2 separate regions of the Homo sapiens genome follow, and region 2 is linked to region 1. Evidence: promoter capture Hi-C in human tissues and cell types (Jung and others, 2019). All regions are on one chromosome and are shown on one strand. Each heading gives the region's core, a stretch centred on a gene start or on the middle of the fragment in contact. The rest is flanking DNA. Distances are from core to core; before and after follow the strand shown. Region 1 holds the start of DOK2 (docking protein 2). Region 2 has its middle 64 kb from the start of LINC03093.

What was found. Contacts are between HindIII fragments. The study calls those that stand out against the background at their distance.
Region 2: a contact is called between a fragment that was not itself captured here and the fragment with the promoter of DOK2 in region 1, in 1 of the 25 tissues and cell types used here (dorsolateral prefrontal cortex).

Annotation. Positions count from the first base shown.
Region 1 is chr8:21,911,608-21,916,041 of GRCh38, reverse strand. DOK2 (docking protein 2) reads left to right here and starts at 2,352. Exons shown (of 5, transcript NM_003974.4): 1 at 2,352-2,503; 2 at 3,532-3,813; 3 at 4,054-4,141. The coding sequence starts at 2,441. RefSeq lists an enhancer at 4,335-4,434. The HindIII fragment of the contact is 2,220 bases long and covers 1,274-3,493 here.
Region 2 is chr8:21,232,192-21,236,643 of GRCh38, reverse strand. No RefSeq gene overlaps it. Among named protein-coding and RNA genes, the nearest start is that of LINC03093, 64 kb to the left of the region's middle. The HindIII fragment of the contact is 3,534 bases long and covers 1,079-4,452 here.

The DNA of each region.
Region 1 (4,434 bases), core at 1,103-3,602:
TAGTAATGAAAATTTCTTGGAGCTGTGGTTCCTGACTCCTGCTGAGAGAAACTGTTGTAAGGGACAGGATCCCAGTGGCTTAGAATGAGCCACAGGTGGGGTTTGGAGTGCCTTTTCCTTTCCCGTAAAAACAAAGACAAGCCAAGAGGCACCCTCAACTCCTTTACAGTGCTTTTTCTACACATCATTGGTGCCTGTGGACCCTAAGGGCTTCTCATTCTGTGCGCTTCTGCTGTGTCTTGGAGCAATGTCTCTGGGCTCCTGTTTACAGGGTTTCCCCATGGCTAGGCAGAAGGTACTGGGGTTAGTGCTTCTACATCAGGGTCGCCACAAATCCTGCTAGGGACAGTTGAAGGGGCCTAGAAGGACTGCAAGGGTGTTGCTCTTGGTATATACTCTGCTGCCCTATCTTCTGCAGTCAACGGCTACCGGAGAACTCCTCCAGCTTCCATAAGCAAGGGATGACAAGGGAGTGTCTGGATTGCCTGGGGTTCAGGCCTCCGGGTTTAAACAACTTTCAAGTAATCTGGTAAACTTGGGTGCCCCCCTGTGGTTCTGAGTGGAATGTGTCCATTTTGCCTTCAGGGAAGGCGATCAGGTTAGCAGGGGACATCCTCTGTCACCTTGCTACTCAGTGTGCTTTGACCCACCCACCACCGGCAGCATCTCAGGGCTCATTCCAGACCTACTTTATTGGAGTCTACTTTGAACAAGATCTACATGTTACAGTTTGGAAGGCACTGCTCTGGCAGCCCCTAAGATGGCCATAAAGCCCTCCTCTTCTCACTCCCTGCACCAAAGACCATGCAGCTCCCAGGCAGAGTTGACTCTCCTTAGGGACTAAAGAGGAAGATTAGGTCACATCCCATTTCCATACCCCTAACCACTTCCCAAGGTGTGCTTTTCCCAAAACAGTATGCTTGGTTCTCCCTTGAGCTTTGGATCAACCTCTTCAAACCCAGGCATCACGGCTGAGGGCAGTGAGTTTGAAGTGACTCATCCTTGTCCTCACAGAGCTCATGACATTCATTTTTTTCAAGCTTATTTGGTCCAGTCCATGGCATGTACAGCAGAAGGCCTAAGCTGTGCACGGTGCTGCTCGCTCCTTGCCACGGTAACTGAACCCCTGTTGTAGAGGAAATGGGCCTGTTTATATAAGCACCTGTTATGGGATTAACCCCAAGAGTGTTGGTCTGAGTCTCAGTTTTTTCCAACCCTTCTGCACTGTGCCTCCATACAGATTGCTTCTCTAAACCATCTGGCTTTAAGTTAAACTTCTCTGAGCAGCTTGGATTTCCCCACAGCAATGGATCTTTTTGCATGGATCTGGATTCCATTTAGGGGCCCTGCAAAATGTTGAATTAAAGATCAGGAGCCCTGGTCTCTACTTCTTCCTCTGCCCCCAACTACCTCTGTGACCTCAGGCAAGTTGCAAATAAGTGTGTTCATACCTGCCCTGCCTTTGTCAAAGGATGGCGTGGCTGATGAAAAGTGTGTGCCTAGAAGCTTTGCGAGCTACGAAGCACTTTCGGTAACTCTGAACCATTTTCAAAATGTATATGAAAGTGATTGCTATTGAAACTTAAGATAATTTGCAGATGAAACCTAAGCATCTTTCTAATGCTCAGGAATGCTTGCAAGAAGGCAAAAATCCAACAGTTGAGATGTACTTGGGGAGTCAGTCCCTTCTCCAGAGGGGATGATCATCTTTCTAGAATCTTTACAGGGTTGGTGTGAGTGTGTGTTGTTGGCAGACAGGGAGTGCTCGCATGTAGTTAAACGGTTGCCTCTCTCTCTCTCTCTCTCTCTGTGTGTGTGTGTTTGTGAAACTGGTATCTGGTTAGGCCCACATGAGCTGTCTTATGTGTCTCTCTGTGCAGTGCCGTGTGTGTCATTCAGCTGTTAAGCGTTGAGAGACCTGGGTTCTGGTTTGGTGACCTTGAATAAATCCCTCAGACTTTCCAAGCCTGTTTCCTTATTTGTAACTTAGTGGTTTGTCCCTTCCAACTTGCGTACAGCTTGGAGGGGGGGGCCTTCACTACTGATTTCACTGTCTAGTTTGGTTTCTGGGTCTCTGTTCCAGTGGGCCAGCCACTCTTTGCTGGCGCCTCCCTGTGCCAACTTCTGTACCTGAATTGTTGCTCACTGAAGAGCTGGCATTTAGCTTTTTGGAAATTGTCTCTAACTCACTGGAAATGCAGGAAGCTTGAGTATAAAACTCACTCAGAAAAAAAAAAAAAAAAGAAAAAAAAGAACACACACTCAGAAGAAACCGCAGGGCCTATCAGCCTGTCGTCATCGAGCAGACTAGAATAGTATAGAAAACCCTAGGCAGAGAGGAAATGAACTTCAGAGAAGGGAAACACACGGCTAAGAAGAGAGAGGCAAGGGCAGGAGTGAAGGAGAGAGCTGAAGCCTGGGGCTCCGAGATGGTCAGAGGATGGGAGACGGGGCAGTGAAACAAGGCTTCTTGTATCTTCAGCAGCAGCAGACGTTTGGAAAGGTAGGAGTGAGGCTGGGCTGGGGTTGGGCAGGGGGCCTGGGAGGCTGCTAGAATTCCTGGGTTGGAGAGGGAGTTTCATATTCAAAACCCTTATAGGTCTGACTGTGCACCCACCAAGTTAGACCCAGAGCTCAACTTTGGGAGGGCTCTTTTCCTACCCGACGCTGTCTCCTGAACCAGGCCCCAACCAGGTCCCAAACTGTGCTCCTTACTGAGGGCTGTTTGCCCTGGGTGGGGGTGGGGGATGTGCTGCTTTCATCTCTTGCCTCTTTTGCTCTCTTGCTCTATGTTGACTTCTTTTCACCGGACACCTTGGAAGGGAATGGAAGGGGCAGCTGGAGGGACAGTTTAGGATGACAATAGAGGTTCCTTCCCAACCCCAGTGGGGTGCATGTGGCTGGTGTTCAGCTTGGGCTGGGGCCTCTGGGGGCCTGGACCCCAGCCGGCTGTCCATCCTCTTTCCCCTTCCCTGGCCTCCTTGAACCAGGAAGTCCTCGTCCCCTAACCAACACTGGGGGGCACACCTGTCTCTCTCTCATGGCCCAACCTATCAAGGAATGAGGCAGCAAGGTTCAGGAGGGTGGAGAGAAGTTCTCCTTCAGGATTTCGCACAGAAGGAGAATGAGGTCTCCAGCCCGGGTCACACGCCGCCCTCCTCACTCCCTCCTCTGGGCCTCGGCCACTGCCCCGCTTTCCTCCCCAGACTGGAGTCCACTGCGGTGGGCCTGTTTGGCCTTCTTGCAGCCTGCTTTGGGCTCATCCCGGCGTTGCTTTCTGCCTGGGCAGTCTCTGCTCTTGCTCGTGGGCCTCCTTCTCGGGGCTGGCGGCTGATCTCCGATTTTCTAATTCCTGCAGTCACTGTCCTCTTCTCTGCCTCCCTGGGTCTCATGTGATCTTCACCTCTCTCTCCCCATCTCCAAGTGGCTGCCCCAGTCCCCCTCCCACGGTTCCTCTTCTCCCCTTGGCTCACGATCTCCCCGTCTCTGGGTGGCTCCCTCCCGCCCCCGCCTCCCACGCCTCTGGCACAGAAATGGCGCCGCTTCGGCGCCTCACTGTATGGAGGGTCGGACTGCGCCTTGGCCCGGCTGGAGCTGCAGGAGGGCCCGGAGAAGCCTCGTCGGTGTGAGGCTGCCCGGAAGGTCATCCGCCTCAGTGACTGCCTGCGGGTGGCCGAGGCCGGCGGAGAGGCCAGCAGCCCCCGGGACACCAGTGCCTTCTTCCTGGAGACCAAGGAGCGCCTGTACCTCCTGGCGGCCCCTGCAGCGGAGCGCGGCGACTGGGTGCAGGCCATCTGCCTCCTGGCCTTCCCCGTGAGTCGCGCGGGGTGCGGAAAGGGCAAGGGGGCGTGCAGGCCGAGGGTGTTAGATACTTCCTGTGGGCAAGTGTTACAGGTGTCAAGGTCAGGGTGATGGGGTGCTTCCTCCATGTGGGGGGACCCGAACCCAGTGTGCAGACAGAGCCAGCAGGTTGAGGTGGCCTGAAAGAAGGCCTGGGCCAGAGGGGGGCCTGGGGATCGGGGAAGGTGATGAGACGGGGCGCCTCCTCCCTAGGGGCAGAGGAAGGAGCTCTCGGGGCCAGAGGGAAAGCAGAGCCGGCCCTGCATGGAGGAAAATGAATTGTACAGCAGCGCAGTCACAGGTGAGGGGGCGGGGGCTGCCCTGCTCTCCCCTGGGGGCTCTCCCCAGGGTGAGGTGGAGAGGAGGTGTGGGCTGGCTAGCTGCTGGCCCCGAGTCTTCCTGCCTTGTGGTTATCCCCAGCCTGGGCCAGCCCCGTTATCAGCCTCTCCTTCTCGCTTCCGGGTGCAGCCCAACGTAGGGAGCCTACCCTGCCTTGAGTCTCTCCCTTGGTTCACCTCATCTTACCTAGGGCCTGCTGGTGGGAGAGGGGAAGGCTGGGGGCCCAGGTGAGGGTGCTGCTTTTTTCTATTTTTG
Region 2 (4,452 bases), core at 1,596-4,095, 680 kb after region 1:
GAAGTTTTGTTTTTTTCCTTATGTAAATCCTGCTTATTTATTATCAAGATTAATTCTGAGTATATAATGGCATTTTTCTCCTTTTCTTTTCAGCTATTGTGAATGCCATTCAAAAAAAATTTATATCCTTTACTTTTCCCAAAGTGTGTCCGATAAGCATTCAGCCTTCCAGATGTTCTGTAAAAAACAAAGGGGTTCTGTGTTCAAACTGGTTTGAGAAAGACTATAATCTTCACATGGAAATCTTCATGACACATAAAAACTTGAGAAGTCCTATTGAAAACAAACCTGTTTAACATTATTTATTATTACACCTAGCACCTACCAAACTTATTTGATCATAGACTATTTACTTATGTAAAAAATAAAATTTTAATGTAAAATCTATTATTGTGCAGTAGAGCTGATACAGTTGCCCTGAGTCTAATGTCATGGACTGAAAAATGGCTTCAGTCTCCATTCCTCCCTGGAACTACACCCTTTGCTGTGTAACTGTGGAATGCTCTTCTGCTCTGACTCTGAGCTTGGCCTTGTCATTTGGCCAGTGGGATAGTAGCAAACATAAAGCACAGAGTGGCTTTAAAAGTGGTCTTGCTCGCCAGTGTACTCTTCTATGTCCATGAGAAAGACATGCCTGTGGCACCCTGTTGGAAGATGAGATACTTGGGGCAGAGTTGAGTTATGCTAGTCAACCAAGTTGAAACCCAGTGACATAATCCCCAAACCAGTCACCCTTCTTCATGAGCATGAGCTCAGTGAAGGCTAGAAGAGCCACTCAGCTGGCCTTCAGACTCATAAGCTAAACCAATTATGGTTGATTTAAGCCACTGAGCTTTGGAGTGACTTGTTACACAGCATTATTGAGGCAGTAGATAACTGTTAGGCTCACAGTGAGCAGGTATAATATAGGTAGGTAGTTTAAACTTGATAGTCTTTATTAGCAAGTTCTCTTTCATTGTTATTTTTCCAAATGGTTTTACCAAAAAAATGTTATTGAATAACTTTGGTGGCCACCATTGAGATTATTTTAAGTTTTTCTAATTGATGTGGTATTTTGTATTAATAGACTTCCTAATAATATCATGTCCTGTCCTTCCTAGGATGAGTCATTCTTGGTAACAGTTGATCATTCTTTTAATGTACTATTGAATTCCATATGCTATTATTTTCCTTAGAGACTTAGCATCTATATTCGTAAGTGAAATTAGTTTACAGTTTACTATTTTTGTTCATCTTTTTCATTTTTGGTACAAGACTTATGCCAACTTTATAAAATGACTCAGTTAGCTTTTCATCTTTACCGATGCTCTGGATCAATGTTTATAATATGGAAATTATCTCATCCTTAAAGGACTAGTAGAATTTACTGCTGAAGGCATCTGGTCATGGAAACTTTTGATGGCTTATTACTTACTTAATAGTTTTATTTTACTTTAATTTTTGGTCTTAAGGTCTGATGACTGGTCTTAAGGTCTTCCACTTATTTTTAATTAAATTTTTAGAAATTCACATTACTTTTGTGATGGCCAATTATATACATCCTGTACTTTCTGTATTTTTGGAAGCTCTCTTTCAATCATTTTGGAATCATATCTGATATAATAAATACCAGGCTATTTATTTCAGTAACTGCAATTTAATATCAGACCTAACGTAAATTTCTGTCTTAATATGATCTGATATATCTATGTATAACAGTATGGCTACCTGTGTGGTCATCATGTTTCTAACTTTTTGGTAGTTGGGTAGTGGGAGTCCTGTCTCACAGCAGTTTGATGTGCTGCTTATGATCGGAGAAGACAGGCTGAAGTATTATGGGTTCATAAATGATGGAAATTTGAATACTTCGACATGATTTCTGATCATAGTGTAAAAGAATATTTGAAAGTGAAACTCTTCTAAAAATCCTAGAACTGGATTATCATGTTTATTGGCCTTATGTTATGGTTAACATGGGATTTGAGGTTGAATACATAGTGTTTGAGAGCATGTTTTGCTGACCTGGGCTATTTCCCCAATGGCTTCAAGATAGCAAAGGAAAGGAAGGCAGTTACCAGCCACAAAGCAGGATCTAGCTCTGTGCTCTGCAGCCTCTGCTGAGCTCTGCTAATTGTTCAGTTCTCAGATTTCAGGCACTTTGTTATGCTAGCAGCCATGGTAAATATTTATACAGTGCTTACCATGTGCCAGGCACTACTCTAAGCACTATTATCGTATCATATCATTTTATAATTAGAAAAGGAAGGCACCAAAAGGTTACATAATTTGTCTGGGTTCACCAGTTTGTGAGTGCAGATGTTAAGATTCAAAATCCAGGCAATTGGGCTCCATGCTCTGTGCTGTTAGCCACTCTGCAATGCTGCCTCTAAATCTTTTTCATTTTGCATTTTTTTTTTATCAGTTCACCAGAGTACCTGGCTCAGCGTTGGGCTTTTAGTAGATGTTGGATACTGTAGACTTTTTTATAGATGAGGATAGAAGAAGTGAAGAAAGAGAGAAAACAAGTTGAAGAGGAAAGAGTAACGTGGTGTCATGGGGAGAATTTGTGGATTCTGAGTTGAGACTTTGATTTCAGCTATTAAAAAAATAGAAACAATACAATATCGTTCTCATAGGGTTACAGTGATGGTTTCCTAAGCAAAGGGCCTGACATGAGATTAACACTTCCTGATACTAGTACTAGTGGATCATCATAAATGATGATGACGATGATGACGATGATGAATGATGATCATAAAACCAAGCTCTTCCAGCAATTGGCTGTGTAATCTTTCTCAGGTCGCTTGGCTTCCTGGCCCTCACTTTCTTCATTTATTAGCCAGAGGACAACCTCATGACTGTATGACTGTATTAGTCCATTTTTGCATTGCTATAAAGAAATACTCGACACTGGATAATTTATAAGGAACAGCTCACGGTTCTGCAGGCTGTACGCAAGCATAGAGGCTTCGGCTTGGCTTCTGGGGAGGCCTCAGGAAACTTACAATCATGGCAGAAGGCAAGGAGAAGCAAGCATATCTTCCATGGCCAGTGTAGGAGGAAGAGTTGGGGTAGGTGCTACGCACTTTTAAACAACCAGATTTCAAGAGACCAGCACCAAGGGGATGGTGCTAAGCCATTCACGAAGGATCCATCCACATGATCCAATCACCTCCCACTAAGCCCACCTCCAATATTGAGGATTATAATTGAACATGAGATTTGGGTGGGAACACATCCAAACCATATCAATGACCATGTGATCTGTGACCCACAGAGGAGATTGAGCAGGAGAACACAAGGTAAGGGCTACTGCTGAGTGGGGTATCTGTTTAGAGGATCTGGGGGACTCCCCCTGCATCTGGGCATAAAAGTTGGTGTCTGTCCAGCTCATTTCACTCACTTCAAGGCATCTTGTAGATGGAGAACTGAGCTAGGGTTGAGGGTGGTGTCCATATACCACCCTTCTACATATCACTCAATACCTTTGTGGCTCATCAAGAATAGGGTTGACAGACTGAGCAAACAAAAATCTAGGATGCTCAGTAAAATTTGAATTTCAGATAGGTCATGAATAACTGTTATAAGTATGTCCCAAACATTGTATGGGACATACTTATACTAAACAATTGTTTGTTATTTAGACTCAGTTACCTGGGCTTCTCTGCCTGGTCCAATGTCCACATCTCCCAGATGCGGAGGCTGCGGTAAATCTGCACTGGGCCAACTTGCCCCTTAAGTCAGAGACCTGGGTTCTAAAATCTCTGTCTTCCTTGCTCCTTCTTCTTCTTTGGGAGAAAAGAACAGAATCACTAAATGAGATTTTTTTTGCTGTGAATTGCCAAGAGAAGAGCCTCTCCAGATTCAATAAGGCAATTATTATATCCTGAGTAAAGAACAATTGATTATTCCAAACAAATGTACCAGACTGTGCTTTTACAGAAATCTGTATCTATAACCTGTTGTAGTTGTTAAGTCAGAAGTAAATACATTCTTAATAACCAACTGGTATTTATTTAATGTACAATAACTTGCCTGCTAAGCTTAAATGAAATGCACAGTTAATTAAAACTATTTCTGTACTAAGTCCTCCAGGGAAAATATTTTACACACACTCTGAGTTGGGATTTTTTTTCACCTTCACTTCTCAACCCAGCCCCTGTTGGTAGCTTTTAATTTGATATGTTTAGAGGTCTGCAGATTTTTTTTTGGGCAATTCTCATCCTCCTCAGGGATATAGAAACTCTAAACTCTACTTATTTATCCAGAGTTCAGGAATCTTCAGGGAGACCTCAAGGTGAGACTGCATGGGTTGGTGCCCCACACCTTGCTTCCACTTGGAGGTGGCGGTTGTATCTAAATATACCTACTCACTCAAGGTTAAACTGGGCCTTTCACTTTGCCTCTCTGAACTTGAGTTTTCCAATCTGTGAAACAAATATAACCTCTCAGGTGTTTGACAGGTCAGCAAAT